4 separate regions of the Homo sapiens genome follow, and regions 1, 2 and 3 are each linked to region 4. The links are contacts of gene promoters, found by promoter capture Hi-C in blood cells and fetal thymus (Javierre and others, 2016). All regions are on one chromosome and are shown on one strand. Each heading gives the region's core, a stretch centred on a gene start or on the middle of the fragment in contact. The rest is flanking DNA. Distances are from core to core; before and after follow the strand shown. Region 1 overlaps CTDSPL (CTD small phosphatase like). Region 2 holds the start of WDR48 (WD repeat domain 48). Region 3 overlaps CTDSPL (CTD small phosphatase like). Region 4 holds the start of EXOG (exo/endonuclease G).

Region 1 (4,637 bases), core at 524-3,023, 550 kb after region 4:
CCGGAGGAGGCCCATGTGAAAAGAAGGTACCAAAGAAGTGTCCTTTTCCCAGTAGAACGCTCCTGCTGGCTTTCTCATCTGGCATCCAGCTCCACCGCTCATCCTCCTTGTACACACAAAAGGGGTCTTGTTGCTTCTCTGCTTTGACCAAGACTTTACCTCTCACCACCTTTCCTCGCTTGCCCCCTTTACGTTTCCACTGATAAGACACATGAGAGGTCTCCTGGTGGCCCAGGTATCCAAGAACAAGGTCTTTTAGGATATTAAAGATAGTTGAATGCATACATCTCCCCATAACATTGGTTTTAAGAAATTACTTTGGAAGAGCAAAGGAGGGAGTAGCAACTATGAACGTCAGTCTAAAATATTCCGTAACGATTTTCATTTTTAAAAATCAGACTTAGGAGGAAGGAGTCATCAAAAGTCATTCCAAAGTTTTCTGTCACTTTTCCCTGATAACCTCCCTTATCCAAACCCAGCACCTGCCCACCTTACTCCCTAGCTTCCTCCATGGTAGACTCCTCATCACACTGACATCCCTTCTCCCACTCCTCCTCCCCCCATTTCCCCACTTCTCAGAGCATCCTGCTCTTCAGAGCCTGGCTCAAAGCCAACCTCACCCAGGAAGCCTTCGCCAACCGCCCCATGGAGATCATTTGTTCTTTGGCCACTAAACTCCCAAATGAACGTGTGTCTGACTGAGCTGTGTCTTTGGGCCAGGCCAGTTCATCCACCTGTCTGCTGGACATCTCCTCTGGATGCCTCGACTCAGCATATCTAAATGGGGCTCACCACTCCCCTCTTCACTCAGGGTACCAATATCCTAAGCTAGACATCTGTCCTTTTCCCTCATTAAGTTGTTGGTTCTGACATCCTAATCGATTCTTAAATATATCCTTAGCAACTCCTTGTCCCTGCCCTATCCTGGCTCAGGTCCACTACAGTTGCTTTTTGACTTGTCTCTCTGCTGTTGATTTTGCATCCCACAATTAATTCTTGACATGACAGGTAAAGCCCATCAAGTTAGAAAAATGTGTGGTGGTTAGGAATGTGGGCTCCAATGCCAACTTGCCTAGGTGCGAAATCTGGCTCAACCAGCAACAGTACAGGACCTGGGCAAGTTGTGTGACTTCTTTGTGCCTCAGTTTCTTTATCTGTAAAATGGGGATAATAAATACCCATCTTAGGGTTTGTTGTGAGAATTAAATGAGTTCTTATAACAGTGCCTAGCATAGAGCAAGCACTCCATAATTTTTGTTTGTTTTTTAAAGACAGGGTCTCACTCTGTCACCCAGGCTGGAGTACAGTGGTACAGTCTTGGCTCACTGCAACCTCTACCCCCGGGGCTCAAGACATCCTCCCACCTCAGTCTCCCAAGTAGCTGGGACTATAGGCATGTGCCACCACGCCCAGCCAATTTTTCTATTTTTAGTAGAGACAGGGTCTTGTCATGCTACTCAGGCAGGTCTCAAACTCCTGAGCTCAAGTGATCTGCTTGCCTCGGCCTCCCGAAGTGCTGGGCTTACAGTTGTGAGGCACCACACCCAGGCTATATACATTTTAGCTTTTATTATTATAGTCTCATAAAAGCTTTCGCTTCATAAATGAGTGAGGGTTCTCCAGGAACGCTGGATCAAAGGCTGGATTCTGCGGGCGTACATTTTTTTCTCTGCTATCTGACAACTAGGAGAAACAACTCACTATAACAGATCTTGGTTACATAAACTGTAATTCAGAAAGCAAAACTAGAAAAATCTCAGGAAGTGATTTTAATCAATTGCTCTAAAAATTAGATATAGACATGGGGAAGGAAAAGGGAGGGGTTGCATGTCCCAGTGAGCTCTGCTGGGGGCTGTTTTCCCTTAGGAAAAGAACAATGCTTTCAAGTGGAGGTCAGGAAGCATACACTCTCCCTCCCCAATCCCCTTACTTAATTCCCTCTGGGGCTGAAGCTTAGCTCTCTTCTGCAGAGCATTCTGCCTGCTGGGTCTGCATCTGGTTCCAGGGACTTCTTATCTCAAGCTGTACATCAGAAAGGAGCATTGAGGAGGACCATGCAAGGAGGACCACAGAGGTGGCTAGCTGACCCAGCAGTCTCCCCTGCCGGGTCCCCCAATAGGCTACAACATGCTGCCATTTTCCCAAGGCTCAGCCCGGGGCAGGCCTGCTTTGAAGGACCACCCTCTTTCTCCTCCTTATCCCTGTCAATGAAAACATGCCCGGCCCAAATGCGGTGGCTCATTCCTGTATCCCAGCACTTGGGGAGGCCAAGGCGGGCAGATCACCTGAGGCCAGAAGTTTGAGACCAGCCTGGACAACATGGCGAAACCCTGTTTCTACTAAGAATACAAAAATTAGCGGAGTGTGGTGGCGGGCCCCTGTAATCCCAGCTACTCAGGAGGCCGAGGCACAAGTTGCAGTGAGCTGACATAACGCCACCACACTCCAGCCTGGGTGACAGGGTGAGACTCTGTCTCAAAAAAAAAAAAAAGAAAAAAAGATAGAAAGAAAGCATGCCCATAGCCGGTCCCAGCACACAAAGATGCCATGGGCACAGATACCCCACAGGGAGAGTAAAGGGAAATCCTTGATAGAGGTAGATGAGGTAGAGAAGTTAAAGACTTAACTTTCTCCATTTCTGTGCACAAACTCGGGTGGAGTAGAAACCCTGGAGAGGGTTGTGAAGAGCTGGAGATGTGGGGCATGGTCCCTGTGTATCCACTGGAGGAACAGGGTAGCATGTGGCTCTGTTTTCCTGGATATGCCCTTAGAGCTAATGCTTCTGCCTAGGCCCCTGGCCCTGGTGTCACTGCAGCCCAGCAAATTAAGACCCTGTTTCCCACTCATACACATTTCTCCCTTGCCCCTCCCATGGGCTGGGGACCTCCTATCTGCCAGCAATAGGCTTACAGAGGGTCTATGAATGGGGCAGCTTAAAGTACACATATAGACAACTGCCTTCCTCTCTAAAGACAAGACAGGAAGCCTTCCAAATGCTTCCCTGGTCTTCTAGGCAGAGTGCTGGCCCAGCAGCAAGAACCCGTATCTTCAAAGCACCAGTTACAGATGGGGAGTGTAGTGGACATCTGACATTTTTTGCCTGCCAGAATCCATTACCCTTCTTTCTGGTAAAAGTTCCTCTATTTTCCTCTGGGGAACCACTCTCACCCTACCAATGTTCTGTCCTTTATCAAGGGCTGGCCAATCTGAGCCACATGACTGGCTTAGGGATGGGCACGTGACCCACCCTGGACCAAAGACTCTGCAAGGATTCATGCAAGCCCTATTGGAAGGGATATTTGCCTTTTGCTGGGTTTCTTAACATGGCAGGATGTAAGCCTGGAGCAATTGGTAGTCATCTTTGCACCTCGTAAGAAATACCTACCTGAGCATGAAGCCAAAACTGAGAAAAAAGGAGCTGGGTTACAAAGAAGGACAGATTTCTGACGACACTGTCTGAGGACTTGGTTTTATTAAAACCAGACCCTTCTGGAATTTTCAGTTATGTAAGTAAACAAATTCTCTTTTGCTCCTAAGCCAATATAATTGGGTTTATGTGATTTGAAATGGAAAGGATTGTCTCTCAAAATGTAAGCTCTGATGCTAGGTGGTACAGAAGCATTGACCAACAACATAGGCAGGGGTCAGACCTCATGAAGCCCACATCTAGCAGGAGAGACATTTGAATATGTACTTCTGGTATACAATGAGTCTTGTTAGGATGGGAAAGTGCAGAGCACTCTTGGTGCCCAAAGAAGAGCACATAGCCCAGACTGGGGACTATGAGTAGCGAGGGGTATAGAAATAGCTTTTTTTTTTGAGACGGAGTCTTGCTCTGTCACCCAGGCTAGAGTACAGTGGTGCGATCTCGGCACACTGCAACCTCTGCCTCCCGGGTTCAAGTGATTCTCCTGCCTCACCCTCCTGAGTAGCTGGGACTACAGGCGCCTGCCACCAAGCCCGGCTAATTTTTGTATTTTTAGTAGAGACGGGGTTTCACCATATTGGCCAGGCTGGTCTTGAACTCCTGACCTTGTGATCCATCTGCCTTGGCCTTCCAAAGTGCGGGGATTATAGGCGTGAACCACCGTGCCCAGCCCAGAAATGCCTTCTTGAAAGAAGCTGGGCTGAAAGTTTCATTAATTTTTTTGTGGTGGGAGGAGCAGGTGAAACAGCAATGTGTAAAAGGCCTGGTGTGAGAGAAAGCACAAAACATTTAAGAAATCAAAGGAGTAGCAAGGAGTATGAGATAGGAGTAATGACAGCAAGGGCCTTGCAAGCCATGGAGATGAGTTTGGATTTGATGTTATGGAAAAGGGGAGTGACGGGATCAGATTTGTACCATGAATGTCACTGTCTTAGCTCTGTAATTAAAACTACTGAGTTTAAACTTTAAATTATGACCAATGCAGCCAAGATCCAGGATATCTGCAAATTACACAGGTTGCCATTTAAGAGCCTAGAGTGAAATTTTTTATTCAGAAATTGACTTTAAATATAAGTTACATGGAAAGAACACAGGCTTTGGAATTACATTTAGGTTCAAGTCCCAGCCCTGCCACTTGTTAGCCCGTGTGACCTCACCTACCTCCGTAGCAACAATAATACAGGAATGATAATCCCTACCCCACAGGACT
Region 2 (5,063 bases), core at 1,716-4,215, 560 kb before region 4:
TCAAACTAAAAGATATCCCATGTCCTGTCTTATCTATAATCACACAATCTATTCCCAAAGGGATAATCACTGCTATTACCCTTCCTGACTTTTAAAATGCATATTTCCTTTGTGGAAATGGGAATATGCCATGTTGACTTGCTTTTTTGACTCTCTCTCTCTTTGAGGCCTCCCTGGAAGACGAGCAGATCCTAGCACCATATTTCCTGTAAAGCCTGCAGAACTATGAGCCAATTATGCCTCTTTTCTTTATAAATGAGCCAGTCTCAGGTATTTCTTTATAGCAATTCAAGAATGGCTTCACACAACACCCTTGCATAAGTAGGGACAGATACATGCATATGCAATTTTGTAGAATATATTTTTAGATAAGGAATTCTGGGCTAAAGGGAATGTTTATTTAAAAATTTGACAAAGCAAGACACAAAACAGTGAATACTATGGCTCCATTTATAGCAAAAAAATATGTTAAGTCAGGTACACAAACAGCAAGAGGTATAGAACAGCGGTTCTCAACCAGCGGCAATTTTGCCCTTGAGGGGACATTTGAAAATGTCTGGAGACATTTTTAGTTGTCACAACTGGGGAGATGCTACTACATCTAGTTGGTAGAAGCCAGGGATGATGCCAAAGAACCTGTGATGCATAGGACAGCTCCCTCCCTCAGACACAGCGAAGAATTATCCAGATGAAATTTCAAGAATGTTCAGGTTGATAAACTCTGGTCTAGGATTAAAACATGACATTGCCCGCAGTAGCTTTCTTGGAAGCATGGAGGGCAACTCTAATTTATGTTTTTGTTTGTTGGGATTTTTACAATGAACACGCATTAGTTTAAAAAACACCTCATAGACAATGATGGTTCAGATGAAATCAATCCCTGTGGCTTCTCAGGCTGCTTCTATACCTTAGGGACAAATTCCGAAAGTTCCCTGAATCTTCTCTTCAGCAGGTTAATCTAAGACAGCTCTTTCAAAAGTTCTTCATAGGAAATAATTTCAAGTCAGTTCACCAATCTGATTGCTACCTATGAAGAACAAGGTCCTAAGTGCTGAACACCAAACTCTAATTTTGTACTTTGACCAGTGAAAAGTGGAATTATCTATCACCTGCCTCATTCTACGTGCACTGGCTCACATTCAGCCTATTGGAACACTGTTTTTCCAAACCTGCTGCAGTTAATTTACATTTTCTCCATCCCATACTAGTACAATTGCCTTGTAAGTCTTTTTAAAATATATATACTTTATTGCATGCATTTTGGGAGTGGGCAGGCCTGGGAAGGAAGCAAGCAGGGAACACACTGCAGTAATAGGAGTTTTAAGTCTTAATGCAATAAACTGAAAGGCCTGATTAACTACCCTTACTCTCCTAAGATGTACACCACCATAGAGTCTATAATACAATCGGGTTACTTTTTGAGTTATATTTCAGTCCCAAGGAGACATTCTCACTACCTGCCTTGGATGCTGGTGATACTTAAATCCTATCACTAATGCACTGAAAAACACCTAATAGGGTGAGTTTAGACTTATTAATTTCACTCATTTCAACAAACATCCAGTGAGTGCTTAAGACACTGTACTGATCAGTGAGATCAATAAAACCAAGATGTGAACTAATCAGAAGACTTTATGGCCTACCACCTTCTGCTGGGATTACCTTACTGAAGGACCCCTTCATCTAACTACCTTTATCTGACACTTGATTTCAACCCGCAGAACTCCATATAATGCTGTGTTTTATAAAGAAAGCCTAGGTGTTAATTATTTCTACACCCTTTCAATCCCTTTTCCCCTTTGGGGGCCACCCTAAGTGCTAGGTAAATGTTTAATGAATAAATGCACCAAACTGCCACTACCACATACAATATACCTGCAGGCAAACACCTGTAAGAGGGCTTTTATTCCCTGCATCACTGAAAATATTAAGTGGCAATAACTATTTTTTAATATTATTATTATACTTTAAGTTCTAGGATATATGTGCACAACGTGCAGGTTTGTTACATAGGTATACGTGTGCCATGCTGGTTTGCTGTACCCATCAACTCGTCATTTACATTAGGTATTTCTCCTAATGCTATCCCTCCCCTAGCGCCCCCAGCCCCCGACAGGCCCCGGTGTGTGATGTTCCCCGAAGTGGCAGTAACTCTTAAGCGTAACCGCAAACAAAAGTGAATTCACAAAGGCATAAGGCACAAGACACACACGGTAAGATTAGACAACTCTTTACCACATGGACAATAAATTACACAAACAATAAAGACAGATTCAGCGATGCACACTTAAGATGAAGAAATGGTGAAGAGGAACTTAAATACCAAAACAATTAAAATTATAATTTCCCCACGCACATTCTTATGTCACTTAAACCTACCCAGGGGACAGCTCCCACATAAGAGAGGGCTGGGGGCTCCCAAGTGCGGAATCCTCAGCAGAAACCCCGCAGGGCCGTTGGCGCTCCGCCGCCTCGCCACGCCCCCGCACAAGCCGCTCACTCCTCCAACGCCCACCCCCCTGGGAAACCCCTGGAGGCCTCGGCTCCGACGCAGCGAGGGCAGAGCGCTTCGAAGAAAGACAGGGCAAGGGGGAGGCAAGTGGGCGGGGAACGAGCCTATCCCGACCCCGCAAGTCCACTCCTACAGAAGAGCGGCGACAAGCAATCCCGGGCTCAGAATGCCGCCCACGAGGGTCCCGGGCCTGGGCCCCAAGGGCCAAGCAAGCCGACCCCCGCCCCTTCCTCAAGCCGTTAGCGCCGCGGCCCCACCCCTCGTGGCCGGCCGCGCCCCGCCCCGTTCGCCCCATGCCGCTACCCCAGCTGGTCGTGGCGCCGGGCACCTTCTAGCTGGAGTGGGCCCGGAGCTGCCGGCCGCGTCCGGAAGACCGAGGAACCGGGCTTCCATACCTGCACTTTCCTCCGCCCTGCTGTGTTCTGCCGGTGATGGGCCGCCATCTTGCATGTTGACACTCCGACGTCACTTCCGGAGGTGGCTCAGAGCGGGAGGATGTCCTGCCCCTTTCCCTTTGGCCAAGGGTTAGTGGCGGGGCTGAAGGTAAACAGGCTGTTGTGTTTCCTCGGTGCTGTTAGTTGCTGTGTGGCCGGTAGCCATGTGATGAGGTAGATGCACCTAAAAACAAAACCACTGTGCAAGTATAATGCTGATGGGGAGAGAGCCACTTTTCAGGGCTGAGGGAGCAACACGAATTCACTTGTGTGGTCCTAGACCCTGGCTTGCGCTCTTTTCCGCGCCCTCCCCGAGAGGCCCAAGCAAAACGAAAGCACTGAAAGAATTAACAGTGCTAGACATGGCGCTGGACCATCTCCTGACCTTTCCTAGGCAGGCAGGAGAACCAAGTGAACCAAGTGATTTACTGTTAAGTACCTAAAAATGCGGAGAATTATGTCGTGGCCTCAAAGGGGGAGAGATAGAAGTCCTTGCAAAGGAGGTGGCCTCCATCTTCAGGGGGAGCAAAGAATCCGTTTAAATTAAAAGGATAAAAAGTGGGGCCATAAAAGAACGAGATCATGTCCTTTGTAGGGACATGATGGAGCTGGAGGCCCTTATCCTTAAGCAAACTAACAAAGGAACAGAAAACCAAATACCGCACGTTCTCACTTATAAGTGGGAGCTAAATGATGAGAACACATGGACACAAAAGAGGGGGACAACACACACTGGGGCCTTTCGGAGGGTGGAGGGTGGGAGGAGGGCGAGGATCAGGAAAAATAACTAATGGGTACTAGGCTTAATACCTGGGTGACAAAATAGCCTGTACAACAAACACCCGTGACACAAGTTTACCTATATAACAAACCTGCACTTGTACCCCTGAACTTAAAAGTTTAAAAAAAAAAAACAAGACAAAAAGATGTTATAGGAAGGCGAAAACGGTACACCAGCTAAAATTGTTCCCAGAGACAATTCTAGTTTAAATCATCTCTTATACTGGAACAGTTAGGTTTGACTTAAGGTGGTTTTCCTGACCACTAATTATAAGAGCTGAGGGTGATCAGACCCTCTCTAGTGAAAGTGAATCCTATAGAACTACACTGTGGGATATAGCATATGATGTATCTGCTAGTCATTTGTGGCTCTTGAGCACTTGAAATATAGCTAGTTCCAGTTGAGATATGTAATTGTAAACTACCCCCAAATTTCAAAGACTAGTTTGAAGAAAAGAATGTAAAATATCTCATTAATAATTTTTTGTATTGATTTCATGTTGAAATGATGTTTGGGGGTATATTAGGCTAAATAAAATTTATTAATTTTGTCATGGATATTAGAATATTTAAAATTACATATGTGGTCACAAATTTCTGTTGCATAGTGCTAGTATATAAGTAATGCTTAGAAAAGTTGTCTTGACAAATACTTCTTAAATTAATAAAGAAATGTGAATTAGATGAGTAAAAATTGTGATGGCAGAAAGCTTCTTAAGCAAAACTGGCAGTGATAACTTATAGGTAAATTACTGCATCATTACAGGCTTATTCATTCACTGATTCATGTATTCATTCATTTAACAAAATATTATTTAGCATATCATATATGCCAGGCACTATATTAGGTGTTGGGGAATCAGTGGTGAGTGCACATAGTCATAGAACTTAGAGTCCCAGGATGAGACAGGAATTAATACAGAGATAAGTACTATGAAGAAAGATGATTGTAAGACAGGAAGTATCTTGAGTCAAGAGTTAACTAGGCAAGGAGAGGGAACAGTCTGAGCAAAGGTCTTGTAGCAGGAGAGAGCATGGAACATTACAGGAACTGAGAGTCAAGGCTTAGAGTACAGAGAAGTGAAAGGAGTATGCAGAGGCCATACCCAGCAGGATCTTTTAGACCAATGGGAAGCTGTTGAAATACAGGTAGGGAAATAATATGTCTGTATTTTAAAAATTGCTTAAGTGTCTATTGAGCACCTATGATGTGCAAAATACAATACAGGTATGTTGCTCTGGACAATATACTGGTACTTGCTAGAAATTGATATGTTGTAGTCCTGCTTTGGACCTGAAAAATATTGAAATAGTGAAGTTCTTTCAGTGGGCAGAAT
Region 3 (4,794 bases), core at 246-2,745, 520 kb after region 4:
TGCCTGGCCCTCTCTCATGACCTAGGAAATTTCCCCCAAAGCAGGCTTGGAGAAAGAAATAAAGGGGTTTCTGAGAGAAAATCCTCATAACTGAAGATACCTAAAAGAGTGGGCCATACTGAGTGGCTAGGCCTGGAAGAAACAGGAGCAGTTGCCAAGCCTGACACGAGGCCAGGCCCCTGCACCAAGACCAAGTAAGGGGTACAACCAGGCATCAGCGGGACCCAGTGACTCTGCCAGGGAGGCAGAGAGCACCTGTGGCTGGTGGCGCTGGGAAGGCCAGTAGTGGAGTGCAGAGCAAGTGCCAGCACAGCTGTGGGACGTGGGCTGCAAAGCTGCAAGCAGCAGCTATGATTCCGTGGGAACATCCTCTCCTCTCCAAGGACATCCTGTAGGAGGCAGAGTCCAGGAGCAGCTGTGTTTCCTACTGGCCAAGGGAGGTGAGAGCTCAGGGCACTACAGTCATCTGCTGGTGAGGCTAACCAGGGGCCACGTGGGTGGGTTGTAGGCAACTGAGTCCAGATCAGGGGTATCCCATCTTTCGGCTTCCCTGGGCCACATTGGAAGAAGAATTGTCTTGGGCCACACATAAAATACACTATCACTAACAATAGCTGATGAGCTTTAAAAAAAATCTCCTAACGTTTTAAGAAAGTTTACGAATTTGTGTTGGGCCACGTCTAAAGCTGTCCTGGGCTGCACGCGCCCTGTGGGTCACAGGCTGGACAAGCTTGCTCTAAATGGAAAAAGATGATCTATTTCCTCATAATCATGAACACTTGTGGTAGCACCTATCTTTCAAGAGTGTCTGAGTCTGAGGCCTCCAGGCCTTAGAGAATGAATGTGAAGAATGTAAGCTTCACAAGGGGAGGGACTTTGTCTCTTTTTTTCTTTGCTATATCCCCAGTATTTAGTACTGTGCCTGGCACACAATAGGTACTAAGTAAATATTTGCTGGGTGAATGAAGGAAGGAATGACAATGAAGCAGATACTGAAAGGCTACGACAGTCAGCTTGAGGTTCCTGCGGGCTCCTGGGCAGCAGGCAAGGAGGTCCACTGCACCACTACTGCTGGCTGGAAGCCGAGTCCAGAGCCAAGGACAGGGGCATGACCACCCATCAGCAGGACATGTACCTCAGCGAGGAAAGAGGGTGGAAGGCTGCACGTGGGAGCTGATTCGGCTCAGCAAGGCTGGAGTAGCAGCAAGAGAAGGGTTGAAGAGACAGATGGTGGGGCAGGTGGGAGCCATCCAGGAAGAGTAACCGAACAAGGATGTTTAAGCAAATGCTGGGGACAATGCCAAGGAAGAGTGTTCTCAATTTTCCCAAACAAAAAACAGCTCTCACTTCACTGCTATTGGTGCAATCTTCTTGTTTATTTCTTTGGTTATTACTTCAGGCCCTTCAGCATCCCAGAGCACTGTTGGAAGAGCCACTGATGCTACAGATAACAATTAATCTTGGTACCACTCATCTGAAAGATTACCCACTGGGGAAGACTCTATTTTCCCTGAGGCCTTGTTCTCTTTTTGAAATGCAAAAATAAGGACGAGGATTTTGAATCCCACTCCACTGGTTCATGCTCTAAGGCCTGGTGATAAGTCTGGCAGCATTTGTGCAAGTGGGGCTCTCCCGCCCCTCAATCATCACAGAGATGGACCCAACCAGCAATGGCCAGGCCAGCAAAGCAGTGGAACATGCAGAGGAAGAGAAGGGAGTATGGGCATCAGGGCACCGTCCAGAAGCAGGACATGGCGGAGGAAGCTACTGTGTGATGTCCTGGAGACAGGCAAATGGTTAACCTGGGCCCCAGAAAACTCATCTTTGGGACCACTCAGGGTCCCTGAGATGCCCATGGAGACAACTGTGGTGCTACCAACAAATGGATGGTGTCAGCCCCATCAGAGTCAGAGTTTGGGAAATGGTCAAGGCAAAGATCTCCTGGGAGAAGCAAGGCCTACCCTGCCTGCCCCACACAGCACAGGCACCCTGCCACACCTGTGAAGGGGGAGACTAAACCATACTGGGAGGCTTGGGAACCTGCTAGTTTCCTTAAACAGTGGAGAGGACAAAGAAACCATTCTATTTGATCAGAGCCAGTGTAGATTTTAGGTCAGATTCATATCAAGCTTTAGGATCAAGATATGTCTGAATGATTTTATCATCACCAATAAATATATGTATATATATTTTTGAGACGGAGTCACTGTCGCCCAGGGTGGAGTGCAGTGGCATGATCTTGGCTCACTGCAACCTCTGCCTTCTGGGTTCAAGCAATTCTCGTGCCTCAGCCTCCCGAGTAGCTGGGATTACAGATGCCCGCCACCATGCCCAGTTAATTTTTGTATTTTGAGACGGGATTTCACCATGTTGGCCAGGTTGGTCTTGAACTCCTGACCTCAGGTGATACGCCCTCCTTGGCCTCCCAAAGTGTTGGGATTACAGGCATGAGCAACCGCGCCCGGCCTATCATCATCAACAAATAATTGTAACACAAAATAATGAACATCAGGAGTGCTTATCATGTGACAATGCCCAGCACAGTATGTGGAACACAGCAAGTGCTCAATGAATACTTGCTGTATGTGAGCCAGACACTGTGCTAAGTCCTTTACATATGTTATTTCATGTGATCTAGCCACAAGGTAGCTGGAATTATCCCCAATTTATAGAAGAAACTGACATGAGAAGTGAAGTAACTTGCCTCAGATCATACAGCTCATTAGGGCAGTTGGAACTCTCATTCAGCCCAAGCATGTGGGTGAGTGTCCAACACTTATCTCTCACTTGCTTCTCCCTCAAATCTGTGAAAGCAAAACCCAAGGACACAGGGGCCTCTAGCAGTTGGCTGACAGTCAATGGTTGAGGGGTACACCATCCTTTGTCCATTACACTGGACCTGTTTGTGATTCTCTGGACTGTGGACACCCAGCTTCAGGTGGCTGCACACAGCAACTTCATGGAGCATTTGTTCTAAGTGCTCCCTGTCACCATGGTAACCCAGAAGGCTTTCAGACTGGCACCATGCACATGGCCTGCATCCATCCCATCTGGGGTGGGAACCTGTCACCATAGAAATGGCTTCCCCCACCAAAACAAAGGGCTGCTTGACAGATTGGGGGTAGGGGTGGAGGGGCTGGGAGTACCAGGCTGGGAGTGTGGGGCTGGGAAGCAGGACTCACCTTGGCCAAGCTGGCAGTAAAGAGCACACATTCAAAAAGCTGCCCCATCCTCTGGAGGAACTCGTCCACATGTGGCCGCTTCAGCACATACACCTGCAATGGCAGGAGACAGCAGGCTGGTCAGATGTGGCAGTTGCTGGGGATGGCCTGGGGCCCAAATGCCCACTGTAGGAAGAATTGCTACAAAGGTTCCTGCCTCCCTCCCCCAGGTCTATGCATAGCAGGCAGAGGCCTAGACTGTATGAGGGGCTATGGAGTCAGACGTGGCACTCCTCAGACAGGGCTCCAGGTCTGAGTTCACTGCAGACGCCCCTCCTAAGGGAAAAAGAGAAGCTGACCATGGTGTGAGGGTCTTGGGGATATTCAGGGCCAGCAAATGGAAGGGTTGTACCATGTTTGTGTGTAATGACTCATTCATTTCACGTGTGTTTCTTGGCACCTGCTGAGGGTCAGGACCTGTGTGGGCACGGGCCACGGTCTGGGTGTTGTCCTTTCAGAGGTCCAGGCCCAGCATATTGCCCAGCAGGTCTGGGATTGCTCCGGCTGCCACCTTCTGTTCTGGATGGACATCCCCCTTACTAGGAAGGTCTGGGGTTGAAGCACAGGCCCAGCAAAGCTGCAAGAAGGGGCTTCCTTGTCAGCTTGGGAAGCTGTCTATGACACCATAAAGGGTGGGCTTGGTATGTTTCAGGGGATGTGAAACCATCGCTATTCCTGGACCCCAGACATAATCCATCAGGAGGGGTCTCTGAGCAGAGGGGTGCAAAGAGTAGCCTTTTCTAGAATGGCTGGGCTCTGTGCACCCTTTTGACCAGGCCAGGCCAGGGGGTAGCAGTGAGGAGGCCAGGCTTCAGACCATACATAGGTTCTTGATTAGGGAGCCTGAATGAATCTGGGGAAACAAGGGAGATGGGAGAGAAGGCAAAGCTGGTGAGAGAAGACAGAGGAAGTGGGAGGAGGGAAGAACTAATTCAAACTTGAATAAATTCCGTTTGAAATTAGCCACTTCACTAAAATAAATCAAACTCTTTAAAATTCAATTCAGCATGTTTACTGAGCCTCAGCTCTGAGCTCAGCCTGATGTAGTTGCAAAGATGAATAAAACACAGGCCTTGCCCTTGAAGAGCTCATACTCTAGAACAGACATAGGCAAAAACATATAAAAATAAACATGGCATAATGAAAGTTGTAGTAGAGGGATAAATTAAGGACAATTAACTCCCCTCACAAGGGGAGGGGATCATAGAAGATAACATTTGGCCTGGACCTTGAAGGAGTTCACCAGGCCAATAAGGTTGAGAAGAAGTGGGCTTTCAGGCAGAGGAAACAGTAGAGGGTGAGACCCGAGGCCTGAGAATACTTGAGAAGCTAGAGAGTAGCCAGGCTGTGTGCCCAGCCATCAGAGGTAGTGAGAGAAGCCGGAGCAGCAGGGTCTGGGAGAGGAAGTGGCTGAAGATGAAGTGAGAGGCAGGTCACAGTGGGCACATTAGGGCCTTGAATGGCAGATGGAGCAGGTGAGAATGGCAGGAGGAGCAGCAGAGGGGAGATGAGGGCTCTGCACCACATGCTGGGTGTGCTGCTGGCCGAGGAATTCTATACAGAACCAAGTCAT
Region 4 (4,779 bases), core at 1,331-3,830:
ACCAATTTGACATTAATTATCAAGATCTGGCAATTCTACAGGACCCTATCAAGACATAAGGACACATGAATAAACTGACACACCTGCTTACTTCTCCAGCATCATTTCACATCACCTTCCCCCTCATTCATCTACTGGCACTCTTTTAGTTCCCTAAAAGAACAAAACTCCTGTCCACATTGGGGGCCTCCGAAGATGCAAATGTTCCTTTCTTCCTAGAATGCTCTTCTCCATATCCCATGGCACATTCAACCCCTTGCCTAAGTAATTTCCGTTCACTCTTCAGTCCACTTTTCCAGAGAAGCCTTACTAATCAAAATCAGGTTCTTGTGTTATAATCTCTCATCACACTTTTTTTTTTTTTTGAGACACATTCTCCCTCTGTTGCCTAAGCTGGAGTGTGGTGCTGCGATCTTGGCTCACTGCAACCCCCACCTCCTGGGCTCAAGAGATCCTCCCATCTCAGTCCCCCAAGTAGCTGGAACCACAGAGGTGCACCACCACGCCCAGCTAATTTTTGTATTTTTTGTAGAAACGCGGTTTTGCCATGTTGGCCAGGCTCATCTCAAACTCCTGAGCTCAAACGCCTCAGCCTCCCAAAGTACTGGGATTACAGGTGTGAGCCACCACGCCCAGCCTCTCATCAAACTTTTTACTGTTCCTTAATTATACTACACTAACTTGCAATCACCTCCTTTGGAAAAATTATTGTAATTATACATCTAAAATTATTTGTTTGATGGGTCAACCCACTCTCCCAACTCAAAGTGTCACTGGGGTAGAGATCCTCTACTCTGGTCACACATAGGTCCCCAAGGGTTACCACAGTGCCAGACACATAGCAGGCACATAAATATTTGTTAAGGTAAAACTGAATGGTGCTCATTGCTGTAATATTTATGACAGAGCCTCCCAACTAGTGTGTCAAGATATGGGTATTTTCAGCCCTGAGACAGCTGGAAAGGGTCTGGCTTTCTGGCTGCCAGGCAGGGTTGATTTAACCAGTAAGTTATATAAATATAATTTTCTACATGTGCTATGATATGAAAAAGGTTGAGAATATTAATAATCATCCCTGTTTTAAATTTGGAGACATCTTTCATAAATACTGTTACTTCAGTTTTTTTATCCAACCACCTACCCATTATCTTGCTTTTGGAAATATGTTCAAGAACCCATCTAGGCACCCGCTTTGCCTGATCATAAGACAAAGCGTGATTAGTGTAACACCTTGCCTCTGTTCCAGTTAAAGGGAATCCAAATTGTTCCAAGACAGCCTTTTCTGCAGATCCTAAAAATGAAAAAAAAAAAAAAAGGGGGGGCAGAGACAAAAAAAACACACACACACAATTAGTGGCTCTTAATAATGAAAGATTATAAGGAAAAGGAGAGCGGTGTGATTTACAAAGGACTGGCTCAGAAGTCTAATCAACCAGAAAATCTCATTTTTGCAATTACTTATGAGATGAAGAAAACAGACAGTAGGCAAAGTACTGATTTGCCTATAATCAGTGAATAAAATGCAGCTACTGCATTAACTTTTGAATAAAGACTTGATCTTATTAGTCTTTCACATCAAATTTCCAAATCATCTCTGAAGCACTGATATGTGTGCTGTTGCAAGATGACAGTAAAACTGGTACTGTTTTTCCTAGTGGGAGAAACCAAGCACACATTCAGCAGTGAGTCAGTTTCGAGATAATCCTCCCCGATGCCTTCTCAAATCCTCAACCCCCCAAGGGGGTAGTTCTCTTGCTAGATGCCAAGTATCCAAAGGAGCAAGTTAAATTAGCACATCCGCAAAGTACAAGAAATGAGCTCGTGTTAATTTTTTTTTTTTTTTTGTCAAATATAAGGTACCCATTGCAACATGAGTTTTTATACACTTTGGAGGGATAGCAGGTATTCTTCAACTGAACAATGACGAAAGAAGGGCAGTTAACTCATCTACTAAAATTATGTATTAATTTATTCCTTCATTCATACTTACTGAATGCCAATTATGTACCAGGTACTGTGCTGGTTAGATGATGGAGACCAAAACAGACATAGTCTCAAGTCTTATGGAGCTAACAATCTTAGTAGAGAACACAGACATTAAAACATAGATATCGCGATGAGTAACTGGGGGGAAGAAAGTCGGGCGGCGGGGGTGGTTCTGTGCAGAAAACGAAGATGCCCGGGGGAAGGAAGGACATGAGGGAAGCTGGCGAGACGCGAGGTGGGGAAGGGAGGCCGAGCCGGGAGAATAAAGGTCAGAAACCAAGGGCCAGGCTAGGGGCCCAGCAAACGGTGAAGGCTGTCCGTCAAGGACTGCCATTCACACTCCAGGTAGGAGTCGGAGCCCGAAATCTGGGCCAGCGAAGGGAGGACGGGCCCACAGACTTACCATCCGGCTGCTTCCCTGTCAACGCTCCCTCAGCGCCCTGACTCCGGAAGAACTGCAGGGCCGCGAGCCCAGCTCCCGCAGCGCCCACTACAGCCCCAGCCACGAAGCCGCTCAGAAAACGACGGGAACCCCGGAGGCGGGAAGCGATACTCTTGATAGCCATCTTGCCCGAGGTACCGGCCTTTTACCACGGCGCATGCGCGCGCATGCCGGCCCCCGCCATCCCCCCGTCACCCCACGCCTCACCGCCCGCCAAGCTGAGGGCCTCGCACGCCCCCTGGTGACAAACCGGGATGCCTAGCGCATCCCCGCTTCATCCCTGGTCCACTGGACGGGGCGATGGATGGGGAATATGATGTCTAGAGGGCTTAGTGGTATGCTATATATAGTCATGAGAAGAAAATACCTTTAGTCTCATTTAATAGGTGAGTAAACACTTGCGCATGGTTACACTAAGGTCTCCAGAGCCGATATTCCAACTCAGGTCTATTTATTTATTTAGCGACAGGGTCTCTGTTACCCAGGCTGCAGTACAGTGGAATGATCATAGCTTACTGCGATCTCGAACTCGTGGGCTCAAGCGATCCTCCTGCCTCAGCCTCCTGAGTAGCTGGGACTACAGGCACGTGCCACATTGCCCGGCTAAATTTTTGGCGGGAGTGGGGGAGCGGTAAAGAAGGGGGTCTCCTTATGTTGCCCAGGCTGGTATCCAACTTCTGGCCTCAAGCAATCTTCCCGCCTCGGCCTCCCAAAGTGCTGTAAGTCCAGGTGTGTGTCACTGTCCCCAACCTTCTCTTTTAAATTGGAATAATAATACTTAGACCATAGCGTTCTTGTGAGGATTAAAGGAGATGACACATGTAAAATGTTTAGGGAAGTACCAGGGGCATGTCACTAAGTGCTCTATAAATGTTAGAAATGTTTGAGTCATCTCTACTCTTTGTCTTGATAGAATATAAAATCCAGATTGCTGAACGCCTGCTGGCAAAGAAAGGATAGATTTCATGGACTACCACTCACAAACAAATGAGTCTTCATTTTGCAGCATGATCTCTAGCATTCCGTGTGGACTTAGTTCTTAGCAGAAACTTCAAGTTTCCTATTTCTTAGATAACTGGTAGGAATAACTTTCATCTGATCCCACTGATGATTCACTGACCAGGAGGCCACTTCTAACAACCTACTGAAGTGTGCACATTATTTTGACAGCCTCAAATGGGAGGCTACCCCCTTGCCAGGAATACCTCTTCTGAAGGACCCTGACTGGTTAAGCTACATCAACCAGAGTCCTTCCTAGGGATTTTCGATCTAGTAGTCTCTCTGGGTAGCAAAGCTGTGACGTAAAACTCACAGGCGCAGTGGCTCATGCCTGCAATCCCAGCACTTCGGGAGGCCAAGACTGGAGGATCACCTGAGGTCAGGAATTTGAGACCAGCCTGGCCAACATGGTGAAACCCCGTCTCTACTAACAATACAAAAATCAACCAGGTGTGGTGGCGCGTGCCTGTAATCCCAGCTACTCGAAAGGCTGAGGCAGAATTGCTTGAACCCAGGAGACGGAGGTTGCAGTGAGCTGAGATCGTGCCACTGCACTCCAATCTGGGCAATAGAGCAAGACTCTGTCTAAAAAAAAAAAAAAAAGCTCTGGCACTGTCTACAGCCTTGTTTCCTGCTAAGAAGTCAAAGGAGCAGATGCATCTGGTCTTGCTCTGAGCAATAATGGAAGAAATACCAGGACACAGGTGGAGGCCTGCAATGTTATGACCCCAACTCCCACAGGCTCCTGAAGCCCACATACATCCTGCCTTTCTGAAGTCTTGGCTAGTCATTTCCCCCAGAATCCTTTCAGTGAAACCCCCTTTTTTGTCTAATGGCTTCTGTCACCTGCAACCAAGAATCCTAACAAATACAACCAGACAACACTGGTATCTGTAGGCTTCAAGGCTACTTCAGCAGCTTTCCCCAGAATTTACTAAATACACAATCACTGAGGTACTGTATTTCTTAAGGCCCTTGTAAGTGCCAGACACTGTGCTAAATACTAGAGAGATAAATATTAGATGGCTTTTCCTAATCCAGATCCTCTACTTCTGAACAAGTGTAACCCCACTTTTGGTCCCAAGAGGTCAAGAACTGGAAGGGTTGCCTGCCTCAGGGTAGGAAAACTCCCTCTGGGCCTGTTTGCCCACCTGTAAAATTGGAATTGGGCCAGTGATTTGTAAACTTTAATCAAGGTTCCTAGGTGTTCCATAGGGATACCTGAGACTTAAAGGAAGGGATGGGAGGGTAAGTGAAATGGTCCCTTGGCCCTCTTCTACTTGCTCATTCAGACAAGCCTGGTTTTATAAACCAACTTCTGTGTCAAATTTCTTTGGTCAAAGAATTCCTTT

What was found. Contacts are between HindIII fragments. The CHiCAGO score rates a contact against its expected background, and 5 or more counts as called.
Region 1: a contact is called between a fragment that was not itself captured here and the fragment with the promoter of EXOG in region 4, in 1 of 17 cell types (neutrophils). The highest score is 5.7, in neutrophils.
Region 2: the fragment with the promoter of WDR48 here is called in contact with the fragment with the promoter of EXOG in region 4 in 2 of 17 cell types (naive CD8 T cells and naive CD4 T cells); the score reaches 6.6 in naive CD8 T cells.
Region 3: a contact is called between a fragment that was not itself captured here and the fragment with the promoter of EXOG in region 4, in 4 of 17 cell types (total B cells, naive CD4 T cells, activated CD4 T cells and 1 more). The highest score is 7.6, in total B cells.

Annotation. Positions count from the first base shown.
Region 1 is chr3:37,939,274-37,943,910 of GRCh38, reverse strand. The region is part of intron 1 of CTDSPL (CTD small phosphatase like); the gene reads right to left. Among named protein-coding and RNA genes, the nearest start is that of MIR26A1, 28 kb to the left of the region's middle. The HindIII fragment of the contact is 362 bases long and covers 1,593-1,954 here.
Region 2 is chr3:39,049,918-39,054,980 of GRCh38, reverse strand. It overlaps WDR48 (WD repeat domain 48), which reads right to left and starts at 2,965. Exons shown (of 19, transcript NM_020839.4): 1 at 2,908-2,965. The coding sequence starts at 2,955. SCN11A (sodium voltage-gated channel alpha subunit 11) reads left to right here and starts at 3,037. Exons shown (of 30, transcript NM_001349253.2): 1 at 3,037-3,120. RefSeq lists a silencer at 2,762-2,861 and enhancers at 2,902-3,091, 3,112-3,161, 3,172-3,261, 2,932-3,804. The HindIII fragment of the contact is 5,994 bases long and covers 1-4,438 here.
Region 3 is chr3:37,969,888-37,974,681 of GRCh38, reverse strand. CTDSPL (CTD small phosphatase like) reads right to left here. Exons shown (of 8, transcript NM_001008392.2): 6 at 3,183-3,275. Among named protein-coding and RNA genes, the nearest start is that of MIR26A1, 2.9 kb to the right of the region's middle. RefSeq lists an enhancer at 4,483-4,794. The HindIII fragment of the contact is 1,272 bases long and covers 860-2,131 here.
Region 4 is chr3:38,494,141-38,498,919 of GRCh38, reverse strand. It overlaps EXOG (exo/endonuclease G), which reads right to left and starts at 2,580. Exons shown (of 6, transcript NM_005107.4): 1 at 2,390-2,580; 2 at 1,142-1,291. The coding sequence starts at 2,552. RefSeq lists enhancers at 2,252-2,321, 2,382-2,431. The HindIII fragment of the contact is 8,358 bases long and covers 1-4,779 here.